Linked DNA regions of Homo sapiens: region 1 is linked to region 2. The links are contacts of gene promoters, found by promoter capture Hi-C in blood cells and fetal thymus (Javierre and others, 2016). All regions are on one chromosome and are shown on one strand. The core of a region is centred on a gene start or on the middle of the fragment in contact, and the rest is flanking DNA. Distances in the headings are between cores, read along the strand shown.

What was found. The method cuts DNA at HindIII sites, captures the fragments that hold promoters and counts their contacts. A CHiCAGO score of 5 or more calls a contact.
Region 1: a fragment that was not itself captured here is called in contact with the fragment with the promoter of DPYSL4 in region 2 in 5 of 17 cell types (monocytes, naive B cells, non-activated CD4 T cells and 2 more); the score reaches 7.5 in monocytes.

What each region holds. Positions count from the first base shown.
Region 1 is chr10:132,657,437-132,662,215 of GRCh38, reverse strand. The region is part of intron 4 of INPP5A (inositol polyphosphate-5-phosphatase A); the gene reads right to left. Among named protein-coding and RNA genes, the nearest start is that of INPP5A, 120 kb to the right of the region's middle. The HindIII fragment of the contact is 1,526 bases long and covers 1,930-3,455 here.
Region 2 is chr10:132,185,256-132,189,608 of GRCh38, reverse strand. DPYSL4 (dihydropyrimidinase like 4) reads right to left here and starts at 2,661. Exons shown (of 14, transcript NM_006426.3): 1 at 2,507-2,661. The coding sequence starts at 2,545. JAKMIP3-AS1 (JAKMIP3 antisense RNA 1) reads left to right here and starts at 2,857. Exons shown (of 4, transcript NR_184044.1): 1 at 2,857-4,353. RefSeq lists an enhancer at 1,441-1,942. The HindIII fragment of the contact is 7,306 bases long and covers 1-3,690 here.

The sequences.
Region 1 (4,779 bases), core at 1,443-3,942, 470 kb before region 2:
CATTTCCAGCACTAACACGACGGCTGCAGTGCTACCACCGCCTCCCCAGCGCTTGCCACGGTCGTCTTCATAGGTCCAACTGACTGGTTTCCTCTTATAGTGGTTTCTGCTTTTGGTGTCATATTTAAAGAAAGAAGTCCTGTGTGATCTTGTGGAAGCTGCATGGTTCTAGCTCTTACGCTAGGTCTATGATCCAGTTCAAGCTAAATTTTCATGTGGTTTCAAGTAACAATTGAAGTGAGTTTTTTGCAAACGGCCCTCTAATTGCTACAGCACCCTTTGTGGAAAAGATCATTCACTCACTGCTGAAGTCCACTGATACCTCTGACAAAGATCAATAGTGGGCCACTTTCTAGACTCTCCATAATGTTCTGTGATCTGTTTATCTGGTTTTATGCCAATACTATACTGATTTAATTATTGAGATTCAAAGAAGTCTTAATCAGGTAGTATAAGGACTCCATCTTTATTCATGTTCAAAGTTGTTTTGGCCCATTCTAATTCCTTTACATTTACATATACATTTTAGAACCAGCTTAATTTCTACCAAAAAAAAAAGTCTGCTCAGATTTTGATTAGTAATGCACTGAATCTTTACATCAATTTGGGGAGAAATGACATCTTAACAAGATTGAGTCTTCTGATCCATGAACATAGTATATCTCTCCATTTATTTAGATCTTATTTAATTTCTCTGAGCAATATATCATAGTTCTCAGTATACAGGTCTTACACATCTTGACCTAATTTATTCCTAAATATTTCATATTTTTGATGCTATTATAAATGGTAATGTTATTTACATTTCAATTTCCAACGGCATCATTTACAAGTTGACAGCTTACAAGCCACTAACTACATAAAGAGATTCTGAAGACATAATCAAAATATTTTTATGTTAGTAAGACCCTTCTGACTATTCATGAAAGCACTTCATTTTGCCTTTTTCTTCCTGAAGGAGGTATTGTCCTCATCACTTTCAATGTAGGCAATTCAGTAAAGTTGATCTCAAGCATCAAACAATTTACACATGGTGCTGGATTGTGTTTTTGAAACCATATCACGAAGAGGTGGGAGCATGCAGCTGGGGACACAGAGAGACCTGGCTGGATTGTGGGTGGGGGCATTGTGCAAGGGAGAGATGCAGGCCTCATTCCAGGACTGGCTATGCTCCATCCGGCATCCTCATCTTGGCCAAGGTGCAGGGATCTGGTTTTCCTCCCTCCTGGGTTTGACCCTACTTCTCTTTAGTGCTCAGTATGGGACACTGCCCTAGTTTTAGGCTTAAAGGAATCAGAGTCAAAAAAATAAATGTGCACCAATATGGATCACCACTTCTGGTCCTCTCTGTGCATTTACTTCAATAAGAATTTAAAAGGTAGATATCAGAGGACTCTACGTTTGAAACAACACACTTGTCCCTTCTCCATCTTCCCCCAGTTCTGACTGCCTCACCTCTCTCCCTGAACTCTGTAATGGTCCCCACTGACTACCTAATCACATTCAAATTTCTTTACCTGATACTCAAAGGACAGTCAAGATTCTAGGCTCTTCTCTCACCGTGAATGGCATCCAGACAGCCTCTGCTCAGACACCAGAGCCTCTGCTCAGACACCAGAGCCACTCCCACCTGTTGCTGACACAGGTGCCTCACCGCACCAGATCACAAACTGGCACACCACCTTCTTGTCAGTGCTACCTCCTCCTGCAGGTCTTGTTTGATGTCACCATCAACAGAAGGAGTCTCTTCCTCCTAAGAAGTTTCCTGGAATTTTGTTTTTTAAAAGCTAGTAACACACACACACACGAGTTCTGCAAGGCACACTATGAAAACAGTAGCTCCTGTCCACTTCAGTCTTCTAGTTCCCAGAGGCAATTATTTTCTTTTGATTGTTTTCTTTTGGTATTTATCTCCATACCTCTAAAGCTTATATTGCCACTTCTTGATTTTCCAGTTTTCAACATTGATTTTTCAATTTTTCCATGCTGGAAGAAGAGGATTTAACTACTTTCTACTATCTTTCCCCGTCACTCAATATCACACACACACTCCATCTCTCACCCCCACCCTCTCAATATTTTCACTTAAATCAATAATCAATATTTACATCATTATAATGTGCCGTGTGTCACGCATTGGCAGACGTCAGAACGTGCCGTGGGCCACGCGTCGGCGGAGCGCGGGAACGTGCCGTGGGTCACGCGTCGGCGGAGCATGAGAATGTGTTGTGTCACGTGTCATGTGCCATGTCACAGGGAGTATGCCGCGTGTCATGTGTTGTATGTCACATGTCATGTGTCAGGAGCTGCAGGCTGCATGTCCTCAGGTTTCTGGAGCCCAGCTGACAGCACTGGATCCTGTTGTGGGCATCTGGCTCTGTGATGAGGCACTGGCCTTCTCCATGCTCCACCTCCCAGGGCAGGCAGCCATGAAGCCGTGCAGACCTGACTCGGGACAGTGCTGGGGAGGAGGCCCTGGTGAGTGCCAGGCAAGGTTGCCGCCTGCCAAGTGGGTTGTTCTCCTGATCCGGCCCTTGCTGTGGGCCTGCGTGCAGAGGTCTCCTCTGCAGGGGACGGTGGGTGTGCATCAGCCACGGCGCTCAGCACAGAATACCCATGGCTGTGCAGCAGCTGGACCAGGGCATGTTGAATGAATGGACTGCCATGGGAGCTGCTCGCTGAGAAGGAACACTGGATAACCTGGGCACGGTCATCCTTCAAAAGCCTCAGCTTAGACAGCAGCGCCTCCAGACCCGCGTCCGTGGATGCACCCCACAGGGACCTCATGGCCAGCACTGCCCACCACTCCCGCCTCACCCAGAGCTAGGGAACCCTCTGCCCATGGTCCCATGGCTAGATGGCCAGGACCAGCCCCAGAGCTACGGGCCAATGGCAGCTCTCCATCTTTCCAGTTCTGGACCCTTCCAAGGCTGCTCTCAGCAAGGTGCCTTTCTCAGTGCTCCAGCTCCTGACAGGACTTCCTGCTTCCTCAGCCCCAGGCCTCAATCTGAACCCCTGTGCCTCTGAGTCTGCCTGACACCTACAGGAGCACAGACAGGTCTCCCCGGAAGTTTGGAGAACACTGGCGTGGGGAGTGGCACCTGCAGAGCTGGGGACCCACCTAGGCATCTTCGCCTCCTGGGCTGCTCATCCCCAGGGCCCAGGTCGGTAGCCTTGGTGGCTGGCAGCTTCCACTGTGGACGGCAGCTGACTCCAGGTGATGGCAGAAGGAGCTTCCCAGGCAGCCTGTTGAGCACCCACGAGGAAGCGCAGATGCTGGCGGCACCTATCTTTTCAAACTGCCCCAGGCCCGACGCCTTCCACTCTCCTGCCGGGTGCATGGAGCCACCGGGAGCAGCCGGCGGCCTTGGTGGTCTTGGCAGTCTCGGCGGTCTTGGTGGCTTTGGCGGTCTCAGCAGTCTCGGTGGTCTTGGTGGCCTTTCGAAAGGAAAGCTTCTCAAGAGACATACAACCCAGCCTCCTTGGAGCCCAGAGGGCCTAGAGCATCCGTGCCCAGAGACCACCCAGCTGCGGGCAGCTTGCAGACACCCGGGCACCCATGAGCACCCCCGGGGGGCCGGCGGACTCAGCCCTGTGTGTAAACAGATCGACACGCGTCAAGGCTGCATCCAAGGCCCGGCCTGCAGCCAGGAAACACCCGTCTGCTCAGAACGCACGGAGCCGACCATGAAATTAACCTCATGGCAATTGTTTTCCCACCCGTTTGATAGCCCAATGTCAGCTCATCTGTTAGAAGGAAATAAAAGAGTCAAGCCTAAATGTACAAAAAATTATGATGGAAGGTCCTAAATAAAGCAGGCTTATGGAGTCAAACATCAATCCATCAATAAGGGAGTGGATTAGGAGCACCTCATAAGCCCCAAAGAAATAATGTGCCCAAACACTGGGATTTCACAGTGGAGGACCAAATTCCAACACTTTTAGGAAGTAAATAATGAAAAATCAATTCAAAGAAAAAACAGATCAAGAACCCTGGACTCTGACACATTTATTGCTGAATACCATTTCTCGGCTGACCCAAAAACTTCGGAAGGTGTTTATTTACTTTCAACACCTTCCAGAGATCAATATTTTTAATTTGGATCCGAGTTATTATTTTTCACATCACAGCAGCGGGGAGCGGAGTAAAGTGGCTCATATTTTAGTGCTAAAAAGATCGATATGACAGTTTCACCTTCACTGCAGCCCCAGCCGCACATCATCGCGTCCCACGGGACTGCAGGTGCTGGGGCCGGGGAGCAGGTCATTACCTGCCCGCTGAGGAGACAGCCCGTGATTTAGGGGAGCATGAAGGGCCCGGTGCCCTCAGAAAACCAATCTCGCCCCCTCTCACTTCATCAGGACTGTCTTGCCCCCAGGCAGGTGAGGAGGCAGCGAGCCCCAGGGCAGGGCTGGAGCCCTAAGGCAGATGAGCTTCCTCATCATAAACGCGTTTGCCTTTCCTTCCCCTTCTCTGGATCAAAGAACATCCGTAAACTCCATCAATTTTCCATAAATTCTCCCTAAAGTCTTATTTAGGAGAACGAGAGTGGAAGGGGGAGCTCACAGAGGAGGAGGAGGGAAAGCAGAAGGGCCTCTCCCAGGAAGCAGCGGGCCTCTCATTCCTGGGCCACCGCTGGGTACTGGGGCCCCCCACCCCAAGAGCACCAGGGCCACTGCCTGGGGGCCATGCCGAGAGCCTGCCTCTTACAGACTACAGAGCTGGGGGTGGGGGCTGTGAGCTGCCGTGCACAGCACTTGCAAAGGGCATCTGTGCCC
Region 2 (4,353 bases), core at 1,412-3,911:
AAGAGATGGGGTGACCTCGGTTCCAGTGCAGCTCGGACGCACTCCCAGTGGGACACAGAGCGTCAGGCTGGTGAGGCCCGCTCTTTGTAGGTCAGCCCTGGCAGCACAGAGCTGTGGCGTTAGACAGGGATTGACTCCAGTGCTTGGCAGTCATAAATCCACTTCTAAGAATCCTACCAGATGGCCGGGAAGCAGAAGATTAGGCAGAAAGTAGGGTGTCACTGATGGGACTCTGCATGACCGTCAGAGGTGAAGATCTGACCTCATTGGAGAATGGGGGAGAGAAACACAAAAAAGGAGTGAAAGGAGGTGGAGAAGGACGCGCCCACGGGCTGGACTCGGCAACGCTTTTCCCTCCACCGTCTGGCGTGCGCCTCAGCACGCCCTGCAACTGACCCGGCAGGACTGACCGTCTGCATTTAACAGGGAGGTCCGGCCGCCTGCTCTGGGTTTCCAGGGCCCACCCATAGGTGGCCAGGGCCCTAGCCTGGGGCTAGAGCCTTCACGCACCGTCAGTCTGAAGCCAAGAGCATTAAACTGAAGTGCACAATTGGTAAAACTCTCAGAATGAGAAGGAGTTCATTATCTAGGAACTCCATTACAGGATTCACTGCTGACATCTAACTGTGGGGCTGTATTTTCAGGATCCCAGTGACTTGTCAACCTCTACCCCATAGTCTACAAACGGTTGGCAGACTATGCCACAGGCCAGACCCAACCCTCTACCTCTCTTCATACAGCCCTAGGCTAAGAATCGTTCTTGTATATTCACTGAAAACAATAACAAGAGTATGTCATGACTCAAAAATTCTATGAAGTTCACACTGCAGCATCCACAGATGAAGTTTTGTTGGAACACAGTGGTGCCCATCGACTTCCTAAATGTCCAGGACTGCTTTCCTGGCAGGGCCAAGCAGCTGAGACAGGAACAGCGTGGTCCGCAAAGCTGACAACATTTACTCTCGGGCTGGTTGTGGAAGAAGTTTTAGACCCTTGGTCTACAGAGCTGTCTGTTCCCAGCCGCTGCACCTCTCCTCCTCCTGCCCAGTCCCAGCTGAGCGCCAGGCTCAGCCCTGACCCGGCACCACCATGCATTTGCAGAGCCTCTGTGGCCGCATCAGGCCCTGGCTGCCTTCCCGGTGCTGTCCCTCTTCTTCACTTTCCACCCCTCCCAGGGGACCCACGCATTTTCAAGGAAGCCCTAGAAAACGCAACCGGGCAGAAGGAGGCTTGAGGAGACGTGTGGTCTGGGCTCTCTGCTCATAGGCGCCCAAGTGTTCAGGCACCCGCACTGAGACTGGGTTTGGAACCCAGAGGAGACGCAGCTGGGGTGTGGGGCTGTGCTCTTCTTACTGCACTCATCCGGATGGAGGTGAAAGTTCCCGGGAAGCAGCTGCCCCTCCGCACTGACATGGTTGCCTGACCTCCCCTGGGAAGGGGTCCTCCTGCCACCCCCAAACTCGACCCCCACATGCCAGCTGACTGGCAAGACCTCCTGCATCAAGACCAGACCCAGCCGGGCAGAACCCTCTGGAGGCAGCAGCCCCTCCCATCTGGAGAGGGGAGGGCTCCTTCCTCGCTCAGAGTCTGGGGGAGTGGAGCCCACAGCCCACGGCTCGAGCTAATGCCAGAGGTCAGACCCCACGGCCCTCCCGCCGAGGCCAAGTCCAGAGTCGGGTCTGGGACCCCATGGACTCCCCCGCCCAGGTCCTGCCGGGTCCCGAAGCCTCCTTCCTCCCACCCCCATCTCCCCCCGCCCGAGCGGGGAGGCTTTGTTTCTGGCAGAGCGGGACCTCCCGCGCCGGTGCGTGTGGGTGTTGGGGAGGGGTCTCTGCTCTCGAAGGTTCAGGGGCTGCCAGGGTTCCCGGCCAGTGGCCCTTGACCGCTCGCTTTCCTTGGAGTCGCTGAACCCAGGTTACTGGAAGGGTTCGGGGCCACCAGGGACTCCGGCCAGAGCGGCCGGGGCTAAATCGCTTTGTCTCGGACAAAGAGCTCCCGACGCAGCGCCAGTGCGTCCAAGGGGCGGGCGACCCACGGGCTGCGCCGGGAACGGCATCTCCCCGCGCCCCGGACCAGCCCGGGCCAACAAAGGGCCGCGTCCGCCCGCCTCGCCACCCGACCGCCGTGGGAGAAAGGAGCCGCTAGCGCTCCGAGGGACAGGCCGCCCGGCCCCGGGTTCTCCCCGGGCGCAGCCGAGGCTCCCGGAAGCCGGCAAGGCCGGGCAAGGCCGGGCAGGGCCCGGCAGGGCCCGGCAGGGCCGGGCAGGGCCGGGCCGGGCCGGGCCTGGGCGCCCCGCTCCTTAAGGGGGTCTGCGCGGCGCTAGCGGGGACTCTCGGACCCTGGGGCGCGAAGGAGCCGAGCAGGGAAGGGCGGGCGCCAGGACAGGGACCAGACGCAAAGGCAGGGACCCCCCACCCACGCACAAGACCAGGAGGGTCCGCCCGGCGTCCAGGCCCCACTCCGGGCGGCGGGCAGGGGGCGCCGGGCGAAGCGGGACCGGGCTCACCGTGATCCGGGGGATGCTTTTCTTGCCCTGGAAGGACATCCTGCTCCTGGGGGTCTCTGGTAGGGGCGGCACAAGCGGGGGCGGGCGGGCGGGCGGGCGGGCGGGGGGACGCGTGAGCCGGGACGCGTGCGTGGGGACGGCGGGAGACAGACTGCGAGCGCGCGGGGCCGCACGGCTCCGTTCCGGTCCCGCCCCCGCTGGGCCCCGCCCCCACCCCGGCTCCGCCCCCGGCAGGCCCCGCCCCCGATAGGGCCCGCCCCAGCCCGAGCCCCGCCTCACCCCGCCCATCAGCCCCGCCCCCGCCCTCAGCCACTCCTTCGCTTTAAAGCCCCCCCAGCGCTGGAACCGCTGCAGGGTCTGATCTCTGCACCCCGGGCCCCCGCGCAGACCCGCGGACGAGCGCTGGGTGGGGATTTCAACCTGCTCCAGCTGATGTGCGCGGGGTTTGCACCCCGGGGAGGCGAGGGAGAGAGTCCGGCCACGTCCTGCCAGGCCCCGCCCGCGCCCCCGCTGCCCTCCAGCGCGGAACCCAGGTCCCAGGAGACGCGAGGCGCCCAAGGCCCCGGGATTCCGAGCCAGTCAACCCCGGGCCGCGACGCTCTGGGAACCACACCCGTCCAGGAAGGCACCTTGGCCAAAGCCGGCTCCTTCGCAGATGACCCGGGCCAGGGTCCGAGCGCCAGGCTGTGACCCCGCGAGGCTGTTCCACGCTGGCCGCGAGAGACGGAGGGCAGGAGGGGCCCGAATAGGACAGAGAGAGAGAGAGAGAGAGACAGAAGGAGGCGCACGCGCTCCCCAGGGACCGGGACGCGGTGGTGGGCGGGACCTCGCGGGGGTGGGGGGTGGTCGCAGGACCCAGAAGGCTCAGGACCTTTACGGATAGGGAGGACCCCGCAGGGGGGAGCGGGGGAGCCCCACGCCCGGCGTCCTCCGGGTGCGAGGGTCTCGGGGAGTCCGAGCCCGGGCCCACGGCCTCTGTCCCGCGGCCACTACCTGCTGGGGGTCCCGGGCCTGGGCCACGCCGGGCTGCCCTCGGGGACTTGCTGCGGCCGTTGAGGGGTCTCCGCGCGCCGCGCAGACTCGCCTCCCAACCCGAGGGCCCGGGCGGCCGCCGCCCAGAGCGTCCAGCGGCAGCGTCTTGCTCTCGAAGGCGTCCTCCACGCAGCGGAACACGCAGCCAAGCTTGGGCCGGGCCAGAGGCCTCGCGGGCTCCTGAGGCTGCCGCGCGGTCACGGCAGGAGCGGGCGACAGAATCCGGTCTCGGAGCCTCCTGTAGCGAGGTCTGCGCGGCAGGTGCACTGGGCGGACCTGGAGGCCGCGCCCTCCCCCCCCGCCTCCTGCCGCCCGGCAGCGCTGCGCGGAGCTGGCTCTGTCCACGTAGCGGGTGCTGAACGCCCCATTCTGGCCCCTGGGTGCTCGCTTAGTCCCGGCCACGCGTGGCTGCTCGCCCTCGGGACACACTGGGCGCTGGGAAGGCCGGGCGGGGAGCGCGCACCGGAGAAACCGCTGTGGGAATCCCGGCCACATTTCCAGGCCCCTTGGGCCGTCCCACGCCAGACAAGAAAGCCCTGACTCCGAAACCCTGGGCGAGTGTGGAGGGCGCGCGGGGGTGGGGTGTACCCGCCCACGCAAACTGCTGCTGATCTCCCTTAAAGCCGAGTTAGAGGCTTGGGGCGAGACAGGAGTGACGGGCGATGCTGTCACTCCATCTGTCATTCTACCCAGCCTGCAGCAGCTGAATTCGAACCCAGAGACTTCAGGCCTTTGCGTTGTTACCGCAGTCCGCATTTCAAAGCCAGAGTTTGGCCACTGAGTCACCATGACCTCGAGTACTGGCGGGGCCCGAG